2 separate regions of the Homo sapiens genome follow, and region 1 is linked to region 2. The links are contacts of gene promoters, found by promoter capture Hi-C in blood cells and fetal thymus (Javierre and others, 2016). All regions are on one chromosome and are shown on one strand. Each heading gives the region's core, a stretch centred on a gene start or on the middle of the fragment in contact. The rest is flanking DNA. Distances are from core to core; before and after follow the strand shown.

Region 1 (5,935 bases), core at 514-3,013, 2.2 Mb before region 2:
ATACACATGGTAGAACCAACATTAAAACCTAAGTTGAGGCCAGGCTTGGTGGTTCACACCTGTAATCCCAGCACTTTGGGAGGCCGAGGTGGGCGGATCACAAGGTCAGGAGATTGAGACCATCCTGCCCAACATGGTGAAACCCGGTCTCTATTAAAAATACAAAAATTAGCCAGGCATGGTGGCGGGTGCCTGTAGTCCCAACTACTGAGGAGGCTGAGGCAGGAGAATCACTTGAACCCAGGAGGCAGAGGTTGCAGTGAGCCGAGATCGCAGCACTGCACTCCAGCCTGGGCAACAAGAGCAAAAACTCTGTCCAAAAAAAAAAACCTAAGTTGGACTCTGAAGCCAATGCTATGTTGTCAATGCTATGTTGTTGTTGACTAGATGGAGATATAAAAGGTCACTTTGGAAATGGTGCCAACCTACCATATCAAACTGAGTTAATGCACTACAGACAATGCACACAAAATTCACTGTTACCACCTACTTACAAGGCCTGGCCTGCTTAGCATCAGAGATTATTCAGACCATAGTATCTACAGAGCAATGCAGTACAGGTTGACACCTCTTCTGCATCTCAACGGTTCTTACCTTTTGACAAAACCTTCCACTCTCACAATAGGTTGATGTCTTGTTTTACAGGTGTTATGTAACCATCTCAAGGTCACACAGTCTAGTACCAGCTAAACCAGGCCCAAAACTTTTTTTTTTGGTTACTTAAAAAAATTGTTATTATTATTATTATTGTATTTTTAGTAGAGACGGGGTTTCACCATGTTGGCCAGGCTGGTCTCGAGATCCTGACCTGGTGATCCACCTGCCTCGGCCTCCCAAAGTATTATTTTTTATTTAAACTGAAGCCGCTACATCACATCAAGTGTATTTCTAGGTGAGAGTAGTACACCAAGTGGAAATGGATGCTCAGTGGAGGAGGCTAGGATTAAATGCCACAGGCTTGCTACAGCCAAGAGCATATCTGCATCTATGAGGGGCAGACCAGAACAGCAAAGCTAATGCCAAGGCCAGCCACAGTACGGCTACATCAGTCGACTAGTTGTAGAGAGCAAGACCGAAGCAAAAAATGTGATTCAACATAAAATATGAGGTTTCTCTAACCTCCAATTTAACTATGCAAGGTCCTGTTATTAATTAATTAGGTACCTTCACCAAGGACAGTTAAGAAAATCAGACAACTGCCAGGTTGCTTCCTATTACTCTTGACTTCTTACTGGATACTTTTAATCAAGCCAGGTAAGCACACGTTTTCCTCTAAGTTATTCAGCAAAATGTCCTATGCTCCTTAACTGACTCAAAGCAAACACAATTTTTTTTTTTTGAGACAGAGTCTCGCTCTGTCACCAGGCTGGAGTGCAGTGGTGTGATCTTGGCTCACTGCAACCTCCGCCTGCTGGGTTCAAGCGATTCTCGTGCCTCAGCCTCCCAAGTAACTGGGATTACAGGCACGCGCCACCACACCCGGCTAATTTTTGTAATTTTGGTAGAGACGGGGTTTCACCATGTTGGGCAGGATGGTCTCGATCTCCTGACCTTGTGATCCGCCCACCTCGGCCTCCCAAAGTGTTGGGATTACAGGCGTGAGCGACCGTGCCCAGCCAGCAATCACATTTTTAAAAACAACAACGAAAACCGCAGTAGCCTGGTTGTGTGCTTTCCATTTAAAGAGATAACTCCCTCCCTTCAGAGTCTTATTTCCTTGCTCTGCACCAATGGCTATTTTGTTGTTTAAAACAAACACTTAAACTGTTGACATTGAAATATCCAGACTACATGGTCTTAAAGAGTCTGGGTTAATGAAATAAGGTGAGTCAGTGAGATGAAGGACTTAATGTTCCAATAATTATCTTTTAAAACCCCCCTTTTAAATGTCAAAACTCTTACAGCTCTTCTCTTAGGGGAGTAGGAAGGGGAGGGGTCTCCTTTAATTTTGTGGAACCCAGGTTTTGTAAGGATATTGACAAATTAGATGCTTGGCAATTAAATTAGAATTTCACCGTATCTCCTGCCTTAAAAGAACAGCTTTATTCTTGAGGGAGCCCACCTAACAATTTTATGTTCAGTCATCTGCAGAGAATAGAGCCACTGTCTTTTTCTTTCCTAACCTAGGGTAGACGCTTTATTTCACTGCAAGTTCCCTGTGACATTTTGCACTCTCTTGATTTAATGCACCAAAGAGGATCTTTAACTCTTGGTCTACACTAGTGCAAATAAAGGTTAAATCTCTCACTAACCATCATGAACTAGCCTAATAACTCACGAGAGGCCCTGGAAAAAGAAACCGAGAGAGCAGGTGTGCAGACTTGATTAAAAGGTGCAAAACCCGCACAACCGCAGGCAAAGGTACTTTATCCTCACGTTGCCCAGTACCGGCTGCGAGGTGCGCAAGCAGGGGAACTTGTACTGCGCCAACAGAACGATTCCGAGAGCCGGGCCTAGTAACACAGGGGCTTTTCTTCAGAACGGTGTCCAGACCGGAGCTTGCGCCGAATGTAGGGGCTCCTATTGGCCACGCGCCGTAGGGGAGGAGACGACTGGCGGGGAGACAGACTGGAGGAGGGGAGAAGGGGGCAAGGCCTTTTCCCTGCCCCCTCCCTGCCCCCTCCGCCGCAGGCTGCCGCCGGTACCTCGTGCGTGGTTACTATGCAAATTGCAGCGATTGCGGAAATAAACAAGGGAGTTGGGAGAGGAGAGAGGGACTGCCGAATCGATTGCAACTTCTGCAAAGTCTCGTACAATCCAAAGCACGCAAGGCAAAACCAGAGCGAATCTGAGAACCAGCCAGCCCGGGTTGGATCGCTTTCAAAAGAGAGAGTGAGAGCGAGCGAGCGAGCGAGCGAGAGCGAGACAGTGAGAGAGGGAGAGAGCGCGCCTTGCAATTGCAAAAGCCTTCTGATTTGGAGTTAAAAAAAAAATTCTCCAAGAAGCCTGCAATTGGCCAACAGCTTTTTAAAAAATCTCTTCCGGGTTTTCAACGGTTCCAAGTTTATTTAGATATTTTTTAAATGCAAAAAAAAGGGGACAACAAATGAAGCAATTCGTCTGAGCATTTTAAAGTTTCTCACGTACTCTTTTTACATTGCAATGGTACGTGGTACATCTTAAACTTTCTATTTTGCATTTATATGATATGCGTTTTATAAACAATGGTAGAATGATTTTGTTTAATGGCTAAGACTAAAATTTCTCTAGCTCGCATATGCACTTAAGTGATTGCTGGGTAAATGTCTATTGTGATGGTTTTGTTTTAAAGATGTAGCTTTGTTGATGGTGTTTTTGCTATGTGCATCAGAGACCGGGTTTTCTTTTTCTTTTTTTTTTTTTTCGGGATTTGAAAAAATTGCTGAGCTTGACAGATTTTTTTTTCCTCCTAGCGCTTGCTCGGTTCCAGAAAGGGGTGGGGGGAAATCCTGTACGTGCTCTGTTCTGTAAAAGACGTCTGGCCTCAGCAGTCAACCTAACCCGAAAAGAAATGTCTGGACCCGGAGAATAATTGACGATTTGATCCTCTAATCAATGGGACAACTTGGGAGATTGACAAAAGCTTTATCCAATCATAAGGAAGCTTGGGTGTACAATAGTTCTCAATAGCCAGAGGGGGCGGGGCAGAGGAGATCTGAAGTTCTCTGCAGCTCTGAAGGGGATGGTGTGGTTCAAGCTGTCAAAGCTACAAGCGCTTCCGGATTTAGCAAGCACAATAGGAAAGAATTTTCGCGTTTAAGAAAAAAAAAAAAGCTGATCGGGGGAGTTTTGCATGAATCGTGTGCCTTCTTCCTTGTCTTTTGGAAAAAGAAACATTCTGCTAGAGAAATAACTTTGTATTGTTATTAACTTTGCATTAGCTATTATTTTTATGCTCAGGGAAGCTGGTAACTTGTGGAATGTGAAGTTCAACTTTAAGAAACGTGTGGCTTAAATCTTGCCTGAATTGTGGGACTGTAGTGAGCTTTGGGAAGTAATATATTGCGTATTCAGCATTACAAAACTTCTTACTCTGATTATCTTAGAAGCTTTGGCATTTCAAGTACTTTGAAATTAATAGGTAAACCTCTCTTCTTGAACTCTAAACAACAGTTTTAAAGGAGAGAATGTTTCACATGTGGACTAGCAGCTGTCTTACACACTTGAAAGAAATTAGGGGAGTGTTTTTTCTTGGCTATTCTTGAATTCTGCTTTTTAAGTATATGGTCAGTAGGAAATAGGACGTTAAGACTGGCCAAGTTCACGTTTCTCCTTGTTACCACAACAACCCCCGTGGAGAGTGTATGGAAGATCGCTGACTTGCTAACTGTTAGTTGGAGTCTGGCCTCTTGGACAAGTGCTTGATACAAATCCAGTGGAAACCAACTGCAGTAGCTTGTCTTGGAGACAGTAACTGGCAGCCTCTGACTAAAATATCTCCATCTCCTCCTCTCTGAGCAGCGTAGACACCCAATTCTGTTGGGAAGTGAATGGAAAATAATATGGGCTCTTTCCCTTCTTTGGATTAAATTCCCATCGAGCTATTTCCCAAGGCTTTAGGCCTTCCAGTCAAATCTGGCTTGGAAATTTGATGTAAGAATTCACTTGGACACTCACTTCAGCAACATGATTCAATTTAGGATTATATGCACATAAGAAAAATCTGCACAGAAGTGACCAGCAGGTCAAAAACCAGAGAAGAAAAAATGTTGAAAAATGCCAGTTAATAAAGTTAGTTTTGGTAAGAACTACAGAGTTATGGTGTTGTCGCTTATGAATCCCAGTCCTATCTTCACTGCTTTGGGTATTAAAATCTAAATCATATTAATAAGATCTCCCTATTAAGTAACCTCCAAAATGAGAGCTATTTGAGATGTACATATAAGTGAAACCTTATTGACGTAATTTATATATCTAAGAGGATTTCACTAAAGCTGGCAAGGTAACGTTTCTGCAAATAAAACACAGTAAATGCAAGGCTGGGCTCTGTGCCAGGAAGAATATGGATAGCAGAGAGCATGACAGGAGCCTCCTTTGCGCAGAGACAATCCCATTTCAAGGCAGCCTCCTACCACTTGGAAAATAAATGATTGGAGAGGTTATTTCCAATAAGGGGTTTATCCTTCCTAACAATGGGTCATTTATATGATTGCAGTGAACTAGTTTCCATACTTCACCTGCGTTTCCTCCACTGCTCTCTCTACTATCCTTTCTTTCTTCCCTCCTCCTCCATCCCTGCTCTCTCTCAAGTGCCTTAGTATCTTTGTGAACTCTGGACAAGGATTTACTTTTGCAACTTGGGAAGAGGGGAGAGGGTTGGAAATGTTTTTTACCCCCAGTCTGCCCTTTGAGGAACATCTGTTTCTTTGTGCGTGTGTTTAAATTTATGCCTGTTGGAGAGAAAGTTACCAGAAGCCTTTCTGTAACTGTAACTCTTCTACTGTATTTTTCTCAGTCTTGTTTCCAAAGGCTGTAGTTGGAACTGTGCTTTGTAGTGTTCCCCCGCCTCCCCCCCTCCCTCCGCGGGGGAGGGAGCGGGAGCTGGCGGAGATAGGAGAGAAAGCAGGAGCGGATGTGAAGGGCTTTGGTGCTGAACTTGGATCCAGCCCTTGCCTAGAGGGCGCAAACAATCGTCCCATATCCAAAAGTCTTACGAAGGGCGCCAAAAGTTACTTAAGATAATATTGCTAACCGCAGAAAGCTGGAAATCGCGGGGCACATCCACTGCTGCAACAAAAGAAGTTTTTAAAGTAGAAATATCAGCATTAAATTACTTCCCCCATTAAAAAAAAAAAACAGGGCGACATGCCAGTCCTTTTTAAAAAAAATCTTTTTTTTCCTTGAGACTCAAAAGTAAGAATCTTTGCCGTTTTGAAAATAGGCAGATGTGAAGTGTATCTTTTAATACACCAAAAGAAAGATTTTAATCTGCTCTGGAAGAGAGCTTCCCGAGTAC
Region 2 (6,526 bases), core at 3,000-5,499:
AAAAAACAGGGAAAAGCATTACAATCAATTAAGAAAATTTTTTGAGTGATCCTTAACTATGTGCCAACTCTATTCTAAGTGATTTGGATGTCCTTAATCCTTACAAAAACCCCATAAGGAAGATGCCATTATCTCCATTTTACAAGTAAGGATATGAGGCACAGAGAGTTTAAGGAACTTACCCAAGGTCATATAACTGGTAAAGGACGGAGGCCACAGTGTGTCCTGGAAATGCATTATAGTCCCATAGGTCAGGGGCATGGAGTGCAAAGGAAACTAGAAGGTATATTGGAGCCAGATTATGGCACACCTGAAGTATCTTACTAAAGGGTTTGGGTTTTCTTCTACAAGCAATGAGGTAGCATTAAACAGTTTTGCTTTTGTTTTGTTTTGTATGAGACAAGGTCTCTATCTCTCAGGCTAAAGTGCAGTGGCAGGATCATAGATCACTACAGCCTCAACCTCCTGGGCTCAATCAAGCCTCTTGCCTCAGCCTCCCAAGTAGCTGGGACCATGAGCATGCACCACCATGCCCAGCTAACTTTTTACTTTTTTGTAGAGACAGGGTCTTGTTATGTTTTCCAGATTGGTCTCAAACTGCTGGCTCAAGCGATCCTCCTGCCTCAGCCTCCCAAAGTGCTGGAATTACAGGCATGAGCCATCATGCTCAATGTGCATTAAATGTTTTTGATCAGAGGAGTGACTGGCGTGCTCCAACTGACATTTAAGGAAATAATTTGAGTAGTCATGTCTATGACTGAGGAACAAGGGACTAGAGAGTGTTTCTCCATCTGTAGTCTCCTCAATTGATGATAACACCATTTCTTCTAGACATGCAAATTTCATATCTGGGAGTTACTGTGAAATCTTTCTCCCTTAGCAATCAGACACTTAGTTCCATCCATTTTACTTCTTCAGTCCTCTCAAAGTCATCATCATCTCCTCTTCTCCAGTCTCACTGCCAATAATTTAAATCATACCTTCTTCATCTCTTACTAAGATAACGAAATAGCCTCCTTGCTATCTCCAGTCTTTTACTCCCTCAGTTTATCCTTCACATTCCCGCAAAGAATAGTTCCAAAATTTTATTTCAATCATGCCAATCAGTTAAAGACTTTACTGGCTTCTTAATAACTTTGGGCTCTTCAGCCCAGTATTCAAGAGTCTTTATTATTTTACTCTGGCCATTCCCTTATCTCATTTCAGTTAAACCAAACTATATGCTGCTCCTCGTGTCTTGCATAAATCTGTGTCTTTACTCGTGCTGTGTTCTCTTTCTTTTCCCAGAACTCTGTTCCTCTTTTTCTTTACCTAACTGCTGCTTATCATTCACAACAGCTCAAATATTATTTCCTTTTTTTTTTTTGAGACGGAGTCTCGCTCTGTAGCCCAGGCTGGAGTGCATTGGGGCAATCTCTGCTCACTGCAAGCTCCGCCCCCCGGGTTCACGCCATTCTCCTGCCTCAGCCTCCCGAATAGCTGGGACTACAGGCGCCGGCCACCACGCCCGGCTAATTTTTTGTATTTTCAGTAGAGACGGGGTTTCACTGTGGTCTCGATCTCCTGACCTCGTGACCCGCCCGCCTCGGCCTCCTAAAGTGCTGGGATTACAAGCGTGAGCCACCGCGCCGGACAGTTCAAGTATTATTTCTTAGGGAAACCTTCCTACCCACCTATTCTCTTTCCCAGGCAGAGTTAGTTATGTTTCTTTTGCGCTCCTGTAACATTCTATCATATATTTATAACTCATCACACTACATTTTAGCTATGGACTTCCCTGAATAAGTCCCCCATTAGAGTGAGAATGTGTCTTACTGATCGGGTTATTCAAGCAATATTTATTGAGCCACACCTCCACCCCTACACCACTAGTACTTGGCTGGAGGCTAGGGATACAACAGTGAACAGATAAAAATTCCTGCCCTTCTGGAATTAACATTCTAAAGGTGGAATCTATCTTCTTACTCACCTTTGTGGTTCCAGTGTCTGGCCCTTGATGAATACGATAAGGTTAGAAAAACAGCTGGGTCTAACAACTAGCCTTTTGAATATTTTCTTTTCAAAGGATCTTTTCCTTTATCTACGTTCCCTTTTAAATTTCTTCCATGTGTTTGTTAGTCAAATACTTCCATGTAGTCTAAATGTACTATACCTAGACAAAATGTCTAAGCAAATTTCAATTTTTACATTTCCCTTCTCTCTTCTTCCATCCCTTTCTGTTTCCTTATCATACATCTATTGTCCATTTCCCTTGAGACCAAGTACTTTCTGGCTGTCCAGAAGTACCATTAGGCATCCAACTTAGCACTTTCTTTTCCCAAAGTATCCCGGGTTCTAACTTACTTCTCCCCAATCTCCCCTGAAAACCCCTAAAGTCAGAGGTAGCTGGTCAGTAGCATCTTCCGTATTGAAGGCTTCACACTTTCTCTATCCCTACCCAGTGAGAAAGGCCCTCCTCTGCGCTGTTTCCCCTTGCCATGGCACCTATCAACCTGCATGACAAACACTGATTCTCTTGCCTGGTTCTTCCTTAAGGAACCTTGGGTTTAATTCTTCTTTTCATTCCTGGTACTTTCCAGGTCTACAACAGTTCAATAAATTACTAATAAGGAATAAATGAGTAAATAAATATATATTGTATACTTATATATCCTCTCCCCCTGAATTCAGCTGTGGGTATGACTTAAATCCAAGAAATTTTGGATTAAAATGAGAGTTACCAAAAAAGGCAGCTTTGACCCAAGGAAAACTTGTTTCTTTAAAAATGTTAGAAGAATTTAAATTTTTAAAATGTGTTTTGGCCTGGCAGGATGGTTCACACCTTTAATCCCAGCACTTTGAGAGGCTGAGGTGGGAGGATCGTTTGAGGCCAAGAGCTTGAGACTAGCCTGGGCAACAGAGCGAGATCCCATCTCTACAAAAAATAAAAATAAAAAATTACCTGGGTGTGGTGGTGTGCATCTGTACTCCCAGCTACTCGAGAGGCTAAGGCAGGAGGATCACTTGAGCCCAGGAGGTCGAGGGCTGCAGCCATCTACAATTGCACCACTGTACTCCAGCCTGAGACACAGAGTGAGACCCTGTCTCAAAGAAAAACAAAAAAATGTGTTTCGATATCCGCGATCCATGTCACATCTGTTAGTGTACCTTTAGTACATGACTTCTGCATTGTTTGCTAACTGACATTCTGTGTGAATAAAGCGTGTATCACAATGGTGTTTCCGTATGTTATCCAAGTGGGTCCTTTCCCCAGGATGTGAGTGAGCCTTTGGCATGGTCTTTTTAAGATTTTGCCAAGGGAAGACTGGGCTGGAACTAAGGAGCTAACATACCATTGAAATCAAATATCCCGTTGGGTGCACTGGAGGGTAGAGAAGAGGGGATTCCTGCACTCACGCTAAATGATAAACTTTTCCAAGGGCAGGGTCGTGAGAGGTCTTCCAGGTCACCTAGTGTTCTGAGTCATGCAGAAGTAGGAAATGGACACAATACTCCCCGCAGAGAATCCTTCCCACAGGACTGATCCTGTCCCTTCCTCCCCTCCCCCGCCCCACACAAGGCGGAATCCCCACGCAGTGCACTGCAGGCGCGGTGGCCACTGCCCCTAGAACCAGATCTCTCCCCCAGTCCCGTCCTCTCCAAGCTCCAGATATGTCAAGGATTCTTAAGCAGGGGTTTTCCAATCTGTCCCTTGAGGAACTACCCCTGAGGCAAGGCGGGCAGGCCCAAGCTGCGATGTGGAGAATTCGATGTCCGAGCGACCTCCTCGGAGGAGTGGGTCGAGTTAAATATAACCGCGCGAATGGAATGGCGCTAAAAATAAGGCAGCAGCTGGCCTGTCCACAGCCCTGTCCCGGGAGGGGCGGGGGCCCCAGTGGTCTTGGGCAGGAAGGCCGCGTCCGGCCCAGGGGCGAGAAGGCTGCGGCGTCCGCAGCCAGGGCTGGAAGGCCTGGGAGGCCGCGCTCTGTGGGCCCCGGGGCCTCCATTCGGGCTGGGTCGCGGGCCTGGACGGGGACTGTCCAGAGGCATCCGAAAGCCAGGCCAACTTGCCTGGACGTAACAAGACGGAAGGGCTGGGCGCTGAGGTCCTGCCAGCCCGGCCGCCAGAGGGAGCTGAGCGCCAGAGGAGGACAAGCCGAACCCTTCAGGAGGCCGGGCGTCTCCGGAGACCGAAGCGCCGGAGGACCCGAGGAGGTCTGCCCCGCGCGCTGCTCTGGAGACTCCCGGGGCGGGTGGCGCTCGGCCTTTCCGCTCCCTTCCTTCCCACAAGTCCCTTCCCGCGCGCGCCCCACGGCCCTGCCCGCCCTCCCGCGTCAGCGCCCCAACCGTCAAGCCAGCAATTGAAACGTTTCCAAAACGGTCTATTTATTTGCTCCCAATAAATCGATCGGCGGTGATTAAAGAATCGATGTGGCCTGGGTGGGCGAGTCGCTTGAGGGGAGGGATTGGGGGCTTTCGCCCGGCGCCTGCAGGGAGGCCGAGGGCGGGCGCGGGCCTGAGGGAGGCGTGTCCCGCCCGGGCCACACCCGAGGACCCGACACCTGGGCTGGCAGGCCCCGGCAGGCAGCGTTCCCTCCGGCGGAGAGGGGCGCGCGCCCGCCGCCTGCTTTCCTCGGCCCCTCTCGCCTTTCTCGCGCGCCGGGGAGGCTGTGGCCGCCAGTGGCTGCGGAGCTGCTCAGAGGCTTTTGTTGCTCCTCGGCCGGCTGAATGGGGATTTTGTAAAGCGGGACAGATAAAAATGAGCAGCATCATATTGTTTGACAGAATGATCTCGCATGATGAAGTGTCGGCTCCGAAGGGGGTGAAAATGGTGAATTCCTAAAAACCCAGCCCTGGGCTCCTCCTCGAGCTGCCGGTAGCCTGGAGGGACCCAGCGGACAGCCGGGCCTGGCCGCATCGCTCCAAACGGTGTCAGAAAGACTCCGGCTTTCAATGCCAAGTCATTTTTAAGCCCCGATCCTGTCCAGGACCTTTCTCCTCGTGGATGAAAAGAACAATTTTCGAGAGAAAGGCTCGTTTTTATTAAATCCGACATGCTGCTGATAACTCCATGCTAATGTGAAATAATTAACATAATAGCCATAATTAAAAGCACGCTAACAATGCCATAAATTTATCACACAATTTTACTAGCTTTCTGCCCCTAACTGCTCTCTCATCGTTAATTAAACGTGTTGCCTTTTACAGAATGGATGTTTATATATTTCCAATATAAATAAATTCGAAACCATCCTCTCTCTCTTCCTCTTTCTCTCCTCCTTTCCTTTTGGTCTCTCGCCATTTACAGGCACGCCTTGGCGTGGACCCTGAGTGGCAGACATCTTGAAAATAAATGAAGTTTTGAGATGCAAATCCAAACAAGAACATTAAAATAGCCTCTTTTTTTCCACCCCGAAAAGATCCGGAGAGGTATACAAGGGGGTAGTGGTGGGTAAGAGAGTTGAAAATCCCCCGCTTTGGGAAATGGAAGTAATCTGGGTGGGTTGGGGCCTTGGGTACCACCTCTGCCCTTTCCCACCTTCCTTGGTGGCGGCCATCCAGACAAAGAGGCCGGTAATAGTTTAACAAATCTATGAAGATTTTCAAGAAGCAGCAGACTTTGATTGTTGCGGGCGCGGGGGTGTTGGGGAGAAAGGAGGGGAATTTTTCTAATAGTCCCACCCACGTTTTGCTCCCTCTTGGACAAAGAGTAACTACTCTTGGTGGGGGACGCGCCCTTCACTCCGCGGAACCTGGTCCCAACTCCCCGTATTGTAAGAAAAGTGCACCCGCGCGCGGGCATGATGATTCTATCTCACATCGCGCCAACGACTTATTCAAGCCACTGGCACTGTCTCTGACTTAAAAGAGGAGAAAAGAGGCATATGGGTTCACTTGGGCCTGGTGAGGGGTAGGTGGGCAATTCCCGCCTTCCGCACTCTAACCGTGCCCCTCCTCCAGTGTTGACCACCTAAGAACCCAAAATGAGCTGTAATTAATTTCCCTTTCTCCATCATAAATTTTTCTATCCATTTCTTCCCCCCCATCCCCCCACTGGACGCACACACTAAATCTCCCCTCCCCTGGAGACGTCTCAATTTCCTTCCTATCGATCCGGACTCCATTCTTCTTGCCTCCTGTTGCTAGAACCTAGATCCCCACTCCCCGCACCCCTCATTCCCACCGCGTCCAGGTGGCTTTCCCAGCGGGGTACCATGTACTCTGCCCGCTCCAGAGGAACCGAAGGGGTTTCATTCCATTCTCCTTTGGTTGAAACATTTCAAACATTTGAGCAGGTGAGGCAGCTGGCTGCCATCTTCCTTTTTAAATCTCTCCTGGGAAGTTCGCTTGTTGAGACTCAAAGAGTCACTCAAACTCATAATTGCGTGTGTGTGTCTACTCATTCTCCCTCTATCTCTCCAATAACCCTTTGAGACTCAGAAACTTTTTATCCACATACACCCTTTATCACATTTTCTTCCCCCCACTACATGTGTCTCACTTTCTCTCTGTATCTGTCTCGCTTCTTCCGTCTCTGTCCTACAGC

The links. Contacts are between HindIII fragments. The CHiCAGO score rates a contact against its expected background, and 5 or more counts as called.
Region 1: a fragment that was not itself captured here is called in contact with the fragment with the promoter of LINC00466 in region 2 in 1 of 17 cell types (total B cells); the score reaches 5.3 in total B cells.

What each region holds. Positions count from the first base shown.
Region 1 is chr1:61,074,524-61,080,458 of GRCh38, forward strand. It overlaps a transcript of NFIA not described here. Among named protein-coding and RNA genes, the nearest start is that of NFIA, 5.1 kb to the right of the region's middle. The HindIII fragment of the contact is 3,593 bases long and covers 1-3,560 here.
Region 2 is chr1:63,313,008-63,319,533 of GRCh38, forward strand. It overlaps LINC00466 (long intergenic non-protein coding RNA 466), which reads right to left and starts at 4,250. Exons shown (of 12, transcript NR_038252.3): 1 at 4,051-4,250; 2 at 2,942-3,080. RefSeq lists a silencer at 4,396-4,575. The HindIII fragment of the contact is 23,330 bases long and covers 1-6,526 here.